2 separate regions of the Homo sapiens genome follow, and region 2 is linked to region 1. The links are contacts of gene promoters, found by promoter capture Hi-C in human tissues and cell types (Jung and others, 2019). All regions are on one chromosome and are shown on one strand. The core of a region is centred on a gene start or on the middle of the fragment in contact, and the rest is flanking DNA. Distances in the headings are between cores, read along the strand shown. Region 1 holds the start of ERLIN1 (ER lipid raft associated 1). Region 2 overlaps DNMBP (dynamin binding protein).

What was found. The method cuts DNA at HindIII sites, captures the fragments that hold promoters and counts their contacts. A contact is called where the count stands out against the background at its distance.
Region 2: a contact is called between a fragment that was not itself captured here and the fragment with the promoter of ERLIN1 in region 1, in 2 of the 25 tissues and cell types used here (H1 embryonic stem cells and thymus).

The regions. Positions count from the first base shown.
Region 1 is chr10:100,183,731-100,188,076 of GRCh38, forward strand. ERLIN1 (ER lipid raft associated 1) reads right to left here and starts at 2,299. Exons shown (of 11, transcript NM_006459.4): 1 at 1,784-2,299; 2 at 26-107. The coding sequence starts at 1,896. It also overlaps a transcript of CHUK not described here. RefSeq lists a silencer at 2,197-2,346 and an enhancer at 2,517-2,666. The HindIII fragment of the contact is 5,345 bases long and covers 596-4,346 here.
Region 2 is chr10:99,910,565-99,915,173 of GRCh38, forward strand. All of the region lies in intron 4 of DNMBP (dynamin binding protein), which reads right to left. Among named protein-coding and RNA genes, the nearest start is that of DNMBP-AS1, 14 kb to the right of the region's middle. RefSeq lists enhancers at 2,712-3,334, 3,335-3,957. The HindIII fragment of the contact is 4,920 bases long and covers 1-4,445 here.

The DNA.
Region 1 (4,346 bases), core at 1,049-3,548:
GAGGCTTCCCCTAGGAATCACTCACCTGCACAGATCTGAACGTAGTAATGAAAGGCAACATGATATGATAGCCTGGTCCACTGGGGCTAGTTAGTAAAGCTCCTCCCCTGCAAAAAGATGTTTCAATTTGACAAAATTATAAAAAGAAAAATTATCTTTCCAAATCTAAAATGCTATAATAAATACTCACTCTTGCTCATGCTGCTGACCTACTAAAGCCTCACTAATATGAATTGCTCATAATGAACAACTGCTTAAAATACCTCCACACCTAAAAAGGGAAAAAGATCAAATTAAACTGCCAATGTTACACCTTGTTTCATAAGCTCAACCAACCGTACCTCTGGGTCTCCAGCACTGCTCTAAGGTTCAAAGGATTCTCCTCGGTCTTTAACCTTCTGAGAAATATTTGTTTAAAAAATTCTAATGGCTTTCAGTAGAGGTACATTAATAGTACATAACAAGAGCCAAATCAAAATATATAATACATTTAATCACCAGGTTGAAAAAAAGACAATGCAAACTTTGAAGTAAAGAGAAAATTTCTGAGGCTTATAATTCTTTCGATCTATCTACAAGGTAATTAAAATACTGGGAACATAAAATTTCTATATAAAAACAAAAAATTAGCATGAAAAGATGAAGGGTGACAAGACTATACAAATAAATAGCATAAGGGCTTGTTAACCAAATCCTGGAATGTGAAAACTATGAAAGCAAGCCCTGGAAATTATAAAAAGGAGGCATTTGGGGAGCAAAGAAAACAAAGTCCTATTTTGCACCTTGTAAATTCATAGAACTTAGCTACCGGTCTTGAAAATATAAACACATTTGCAAGGTCATAATAACAAGGAAAGATGAACTGTTTGAGGTTCATTACTAATTCTTTGAGTCATTCCTTGAAATGTCCTTTCTCTGGTTTTACTGTCAGAAAGACAATGCTTTTAAACTGGAAGGAAATCTGGACTAATCTGTAATTTCTTATGTAGAGCTCCATCTGCTAAGATATACCATTAAAATTGCTCTTTTTCTAGGATTCAGGATGGATTTGAAAGTAGAAATATCAGTTTTGAGGGATAGTGGAAACAAGCAAAAAGTTGACGCTCTTTTTGAATACACCATTATCCCAATTTCTCCACAAACTGGCCTCTCTTACTAGTCTGTATCAAAAGGAACTTGTGGTAATTAGGCTGAAGGAAAAGCTAAGCGAGCTCAACAAGAGAGCAACAGCTCCCACACCACTCCTGTCCCCAACTTGAACAGCAACAGTAAGGAGGGAGGAGCATGGCCCATCAGTGTTGTGCTTATGTCCCTGGAGGTCCAGGGACATAAGCACCATCACAGTCATCATGGTGTTACAAGACGTAACCAGACACTGGAAGCTTTTAAATGAAAAAGTCTAAGAAACAACCATAAACATACAGCATCTACAGCGGCAAACTAAAGCCTGTACAGTTGAACGAACTATAATTTATCCATCTCTTCAGTTAGAGGTAGAGTGACTACTTCCTTTCTTCCTTCTTCATTTTTCTACAAATAATTGAGTTTGCTGTGTATAGGAATAACCGTAGGGAGACTTAATCTCTGCAACAAAACGAACATAGCACTAAAACTGTCCAACATCTGGAGGGTGCTCCGCAAAAGCCCGCTTCGACCCCCGTGCTCTCCCTAGAGATGGGACATGCGCCCCCGAACGTTGCAGAGGGAACAACTTCCCAGACTCCACTCTGGAGTACCCTTTTAATCTGCTCTAGAGCCCTAACTGACTGCACATGCCGCTCACCTGTAGTACACAGCCAGATGGCCCTCCTCAATCTTGTGGATGGAGGCGTAGAGCAGGACAGCCACCAACCCCACCACTGCAGCCACCAGAACCCGGGCTTGAGTCATATTCATTCTCGTTCCTCCTGGGAGCGGGAGAAAAGGACCCTCAGTCCCGTGAGTGACAGGTCCACCCCCTCCAGTTTCTACCCTCTCCCTCCGGAAACTTGGCGCTCTCTCGCAGGCTGAGCCGGGGAGTCCAGTACCCCTGTCCCCTCATTCTTCCCTTCTGGCTGAGCCCGCTGACCCCTTGCCAACTCCTCCGCCCCCGGAGGCCAGTGGGCCGCCCCTGCTCGGTGAGCTTCCTGAAACTCCCTCTCCCAAGGGTCGCTCCCGGGTGGAAGGCACTAACTGAGAAGAAGCCCAGCCGCAGGCTCGCGAGGAAAGCCGACCCCTCGGCCGCGCCTCACCGATCAGTGACGCATCGCCCCCGCCCGCACGTGCAGCCGACTCCCGCGCCGAGCCAACCGCCGCCAACAGCCGGCCCCGCCCACTCGCCCAGCACTGCGGCTGCGCGGGGACGCACACGGCGTAGCCCCGGCCCGCGGCTAGTGAGACGGGGAGCGCATGGGACAAAATTCTCCTAGCCGCGGGCCGCGCAGGCTCCTTTGGAGGCAAGTCGCTTTCTGTACACTGCTGGTTAACTGCTTCGGAAGAGGACAGCCCGCAGTCTGGAGTGAGCAGCGAAGCAGAGAAAAGGAGACGCCCTTTCGGACAAGGGACTGGTTGGTTTGTTCTTGTGCAGAGAACCCACTCGCTCACTCTCAAACGGTAGCTGTTCGGTTTATTTGTCCTTTTGCAGTGTATGCGGAGCCCCACTGTGTGGCACGCACTTGCTTCCGGCAGAGATCCTGCCCTTCAGGAGCAACTAAACTTGTTGCAAATAAAGTGCTGTGAAAGTTCAGAAGAGGAAGATATTAGATATAACGGCATCATTCTCTCGTTTTTTAAGTGTTCCTATTATGTGCCAGAATGCTGGTCCAGTGAGGGCTTTATGAAGGCCATCCAGACTACAGGAACAGAATTGCTAAGCACATGGGGCGGGAGGCGGAGGGAATCCTCCAGGGAGACCAAAGTAAGTACTTCAGTTTCCTTGAAGGCTTGTGTGATGGGAAGGAGTGCTATGGTAGGCGTCACTACATATTCTGTTCGTTTTAAATTAAAAAACCATGGGCACATATTGCCAAAAATAAAAAAGGGAAGGAAAAAGGTATAGTTGGGAGATAGATGAATACAAGAGAAATTAAGGACATTAATGGTTTAAGCCTTGAAAGGCTAGAGGTGGAACTATAACTGGACAAGGTGGACTAGGGTTGTAAAGTCCTCTAACCCAGCGGACGGGGTGGGGGTGTGTGTGGGTTGGGGATGAAACTGTTCCACTTCAGATCATCAGGCATTAGATTCTCACAGGGAGCCGGCAAACCTCACATGTGCAGTTCACAATAGGGTTCGCGTGCCTATGAGAATCTGATGCCACTCGCTAATCTGACAGCAGGCAGAGCTCAAGGCGATAATGCTCACTCGCCCGCCGCTCACCTCCTGCTATCCGGCTTGGTTCCTAACAGGCCACTGTCTGGTTCCGGTCCGCGGCCCAGGGCTTGGGGACCCCTGCCCTCTTGGGTAGGGAAGTATGGGAAAGCAGTGCTTTAGGGCCAATGAATCTATAAAACGGCTGAAAGTGGAGACAGACTGTTGGCAAGGAAGTCAAGTGGTTAGGAAACTGCAGGCCCAGGGTTACTTAGTAGTGGAAGTAAGAAGAGGTAAATAGAATCAATCCGTCTTCATTAAAGCAAGACTTCCCAGACCACTCTACCCACACCCTTCAATAAATACACTTACCTGTATCATTCATTTGATTTTTATTATCTAGGAATGTCTGGGACCTTATCTGTTCCAAATAAATGATATTTGCAGAGCTTAGCTATTTTAACTTCCAAAAAGCAAAAAGAATGGAAAATAACTTGCTCCATACCCTGTTTTCTGTAGACATTCTCTGAAGTTTTTCATAATATTGCTTAAAGAATGAAATGTATACAATTCACAACTGCCATTCCCCTCTGAAAAGTTGTTACCCACCAAAAAATAGTGGTCCAACTCATGCATCAAAAGCAAGTTTGGGGATCCCACTATAATAGTCTGTTCTGACTCACACCATCTGCCCAAATTATATAGATCAGGCTGCCCTGACATAACCCCAGCCACACACCAGCAGCGGCCCCCACGCTATAACAAATCTTTAACCAATTATTAAAATATTAGAAAATGCATGACCATTGAAAATAATCCTTAACAATAATTGCAATGCTTGGATGGCTTGTAATGTTCAGACTCCCAGATAAGCACTTTTACTATACTGCCTATGTTGTTTCAGATCTTGCCATCTAGCTTAATACCCTCCAAGTAACAGGTACCCAATAAATGTTTATTACTAAAATCTTCTAAAACCAGGGAAACAAGAGAGAGACTGCCTATTATAATAGATGACGAACAGTGATATGTGATGACTAAAAAATTTGGTTGACTAG
Region 2 (4,609 bases), core at 736-3,235, 270 kb before region 1:
AGAATACAACCCAAATTCTGGTTTCTAGATGCCATTCTCCACTAAAAGGAGGCAGGGTTCTTTGAAGAAATGGCTAATTCCAGGGCTGGGGCAGAGAAGGTATAGCTGAGCCTGAAATGTGGGAGAAAGTGAAGAAGTACTCAACAACATGGTGGGGATAGGTCAAAGGGCACAGAGGCCAGCTTGAAGGGGCTCCCACTGGCCAATCTGGCACAATTTGAGTATAAATGAAAAAGCACAATGGATTATTCCACTGAATAAGAACCTGTAAGTACATATTGATAATATGTAAGTACATAAATAAATGGGGGAGAAGAGAAAACTCTTTGTTATGGTAGAATGTCAGCTGATAAATAAGAGAAGAAATAATGGAGTCAGCAAATCACCATTTTAGGCCAAGTGTGGTGGCTCATGCCTATAATCCCAGCACTTTGGGAGGCCGAGGTGGGTAGATCACTTGAGCTTGGAGTTCAAGACCAGCCTGGGCAACATGGTGAAACCTCACCTCTACAAAAAATACAAAAATTAGCAGCACATGGACTGGCACACACCTATAGTCCCAGCTACTCAGGAGGCTGAGGTGGGAGGATGGCTTGAGCCTGGGTGGCAGAGGTTGCAGTAAGCTGAGATTATGCCACTGCACTCCAGCCTGAGTAAAAAAAAAATCTGGCCAGGTGCAGTGGCTCACGCCTGTCATCCCCGCACTTTGGGAGTCTGAGGCTGAGGCGGACAGATCACCTGAGGTCAGAAGTTCGAGACCAGCCTGACCAACATGGTGAAACCCCATCTCTACTAAAAATACAAAAATTTGTATTTTGCCTGTAATTCCAGCTATTCAGGAGGCTGAGGCAGAGGTTGCAGTGAGCCAAGATTGCACCACTGCACTCCAGCCTGGGAGAACAGAGCAAGACTCCATCTCAAAAAAAAATCCATGTTCATACAAAATACACACTGAAGCTTACTAAGGGGCACAATATATGCAATGTACTCTTAGTTCATTAAAGAAAAAAAAACTGCATGTGGAGAGTGGGGATTGACAGAGAATGAGATAAAAACAGCAAAATGTTAAATATGGGTGAATTTGTATAAAATGTATACAGGAGTTTTCATTGTACTATTGCAATTTTCTGTATATTTGGTATTATTCAAAATAAAACTTAAGACATAACAGAAAAAGCTCTTTCTCGAACTTTTTGGTAGAATGAATGGCAAAACTTGAAGCATAACCCTGATTTCATCAGTGTTCGATTATGATTCTAAATTCATTGTGTTACATATAAAATTTATTTCTAATAGGCTTGTTTTAAATTTTCTTTGTGATCTCAAAGCAACAGACTTTCAATCCCAAATATGGTCTCATTAGTGCCAAGTTGAGAATAGAAACTCATTTTAAATACAAGACTAAAAAGCTCTGGAGAGGGAGAACATTTACTGAATTCCTATCACATGCCAGGTACTTTACAGATTATATCCCTGAACTCATTTAATACTCACATCAGAATTTTTAAGTAGGTATTATTACTCCCATTTAATAGGTAAGAAAATCCAGGCTTGGAGAGGCTGACAAACTTGTCTGAGGTTATATAGTGAGTAAATGGCAGTTGTGGATTTAGAACCTAAATATATTTAAATCCAAATCCTGTGCACTTAATCCTGCACCATTTGGTTTCCCTGGCCTGGAATCTCAATGAGAAAAGGTCAGGGGCTTATTTGCTTCAAATCTTAAAAACTCCCTGGAAACCACTGTGTACTCTCCTGAGAATCAAAATTCTACTAATTATAGTAGTTGAAAACACAAAGTACCAGCAAGCACTTACTCATCAATCAGAAGCCAGCCAGCCTATGTATTAGATTTTTATTTCTTTAAAATGGAGAAAAACAATAACAATTCTTTTAAACTACCAGCGTGCCTTCCCCTGTGCCCCCACCCCCCGAAAATGGGGTTTATAAACTCTTGAGCAGCCTTTAAAAACCCAAACACTTTGGTGTGATTAAAAACCCCTGTGGGATGTTTTCACTATATTGCAGTTTCCTGGACACCATCCCTGGGATTCAGATTCAGCAAACCTGGGTGGGACCGGGGTATCCGCAATTTTAATAAAACCCTAGGTGTTTCCTTCCCTCCTCTTTCTCTTCCTCTCTCTTTAAAGGAGGGGGTTGTTACCCAGACTAGTTTCAAACTCCTGGGGCTCTCAAGCGATCCTCCCACCTCAGCCTCCCAAGTAGCTGGGACTATAGGCATGTGTCACTGCTCCTGGCAACCCAAGGTATTTCTGAAGACACAGGTGACCTTCAGGTGCCACAAACATTTATTAACACTCAAAGAGAGTTTTCAAAGATTAAGTCAAATTTTAAAGTCTGGCTTGAAATGACTGTAAGTATAAAAACTTTTTCCTTTATGCCACATATATTCTAATAAAAATATCTGCTCTAAAATTTTAGTATCTGGGCCATGCGTGGTGGCTCATGCCTGTAATCCTAGCGCTTTGGGAGTCTGAGGTGGGAAGACTGCTGGAGCCCAGGAGTTCAAGACCAGCCTGGGCAATATAGTGAGACACCCGTCTCTAAAAAAATTAAATTTTTAGTATCCCGGACAACAAAGCGGGAGAAGGCGGCCTTCACCCCCAGCCAGCTGTGGTGGAAAAAGAAGCTTTGAATCTTGCACTTCCCCACTATGTAGCTGGGGAGCCTTGGAAATGTCCACTTTTATCTCTTGGCCTCAATTTCCCAATCTATAAAATGAGGATAATAATACTTGCTTTGCAGAGTAGTTGAGGGAGTTAAACAAGGTAATAACCCAACAAACATAAGTCCTTTTCCCACAATGGGCCCGAATATGCCATCTGCACCTGATAGATGGTAAATACACTTGGTAAAATGTACCAAGCAGAAAAGTGCCCTGTGCAGACTCTAAAATTCCACTTTTCTATGAGAACAATAAAATGTGCAGACGAGCTCTTACTTTCTTCCTAGGATAGCCCGGCAGGTGTTAAAGGAGCTGGGACTGTTGCACAAATTTACTTCCTGTGATAAAACAATTAGTTGTGGGGTTCCTTCAGTGATTGTGGCTTACCCCCCACCCCAAGTCCTGATTCCATTCCTTCTCAAGACACCCCCAGCCCTTTCCGGTTAGTACATTATCACCAGGCTCACTTCCTAAAGTTCGAAGGAAGGGAGTCATTAGCCCACGGCTTCCCACAACTCCATCACACACACTTCAGAGTTAAAGAGCAGAGCCATGCGCCCTTCCCTTGCCTCAGAAAGCTGGATCTATCTCTAATGGGGAAAATTTTGAGCTCCCGGCCAGATCCCAGGTGCCCTTGAACAGGGACGAAGAGGCTGCCTGTTCCACTTCCTTCTGTGCTGGCTCCCACACCCCAGGACCTACCTGCAGTGCCCAGAGCTGGCTGTGTGTGGAGGTGTGGGCCTGAGGGTAAGCAGGCGGGACAGAATCTTCCCAGAGCTCTGGAATGCTCCACAACCCCCCAAACTCCTTTGAATAGGGTCGGCATTTCCCCCAGGCTTCCCACATTTACATATGAATCGCGCAAGTCACCCGGGCTATCACAGCAGGGCTTGTCCTAAAGGATGGAGCTGGAACCCTAAGCGTACTGGACTGAGAAGTGCACCAGCGGGCCCAGCAGTACCTGGATCAACACCTTCCTTTCTATTTGGTGTTCTTTCCTAGTCCTAAAACCCTCGAAATTCCACCTCTGGAGTTTGAATCTAAGATTATTATCTCTTCCTTTTCTACCCCATGCTAAGCCTTTTTGTTGTTGTTTTGCGTGGGAAATGGGGAATGCCCTTTTGAGGAAAGAATTCCAAAGGCCCAGCCATCTCTTGTGATGAGAGGCAAAACTGTGAAGTGGGCAGCAGTTGCCTGTTTAGTCTGCTCCTGAGCCTCTTTATGCAGTCTTTCACCCACAGCTTAGCCAAGGGACCCCAAACCTCCCCCTCCTTTAGGCAATGAACCCTAAAGCCATCACAGAGCAGATTTCAGCTGGGTAGTCCCAGGACAGCAAGAACAGGGATGGCAGGAGTGATTCACAGGAACTGGGAGTCCCGCTCACATCTTCCAAACATTTACACTTAAATGAACCAGGGAGAAGAAAGGCACACAACAATATGCCACAATTTTTTAAGAAAATGCACAATTTTGTAAGAAAATGGAGAACGGGGAAAAGAGACGAAAGAAAGGAAAATCTGCAAAAACCCATACATATTTCTATATAAACATATAGGCTGGGCGCAGTGGCTCACGTGAGGCCTGTAATCCCAGCACCCTGGGAGGCCGAGATGGGTGGATCACCTGAGGTCAGGAGTTTAAGACCAGCCTGGTCAACATGGTGAAACCCCATCTATACTAATAATACAAAAAAATTAGCCTGGTGTGGTGGCACACACTTGTAATCCCAGCTACTTGGGAGGCTGAGGCAGGAAAATCGCTTGAACCTGGGAGGTAGAGGCTGCAGTGAGCCGAGATCGTACCATTGCACTCCAGCCTGGGCAACAAGTGTGAAACTCTGTCTCAAAAAAAAAAAAAAATATATATATATATATATATACACACACACACATATATATACATATATATACACATATACACATA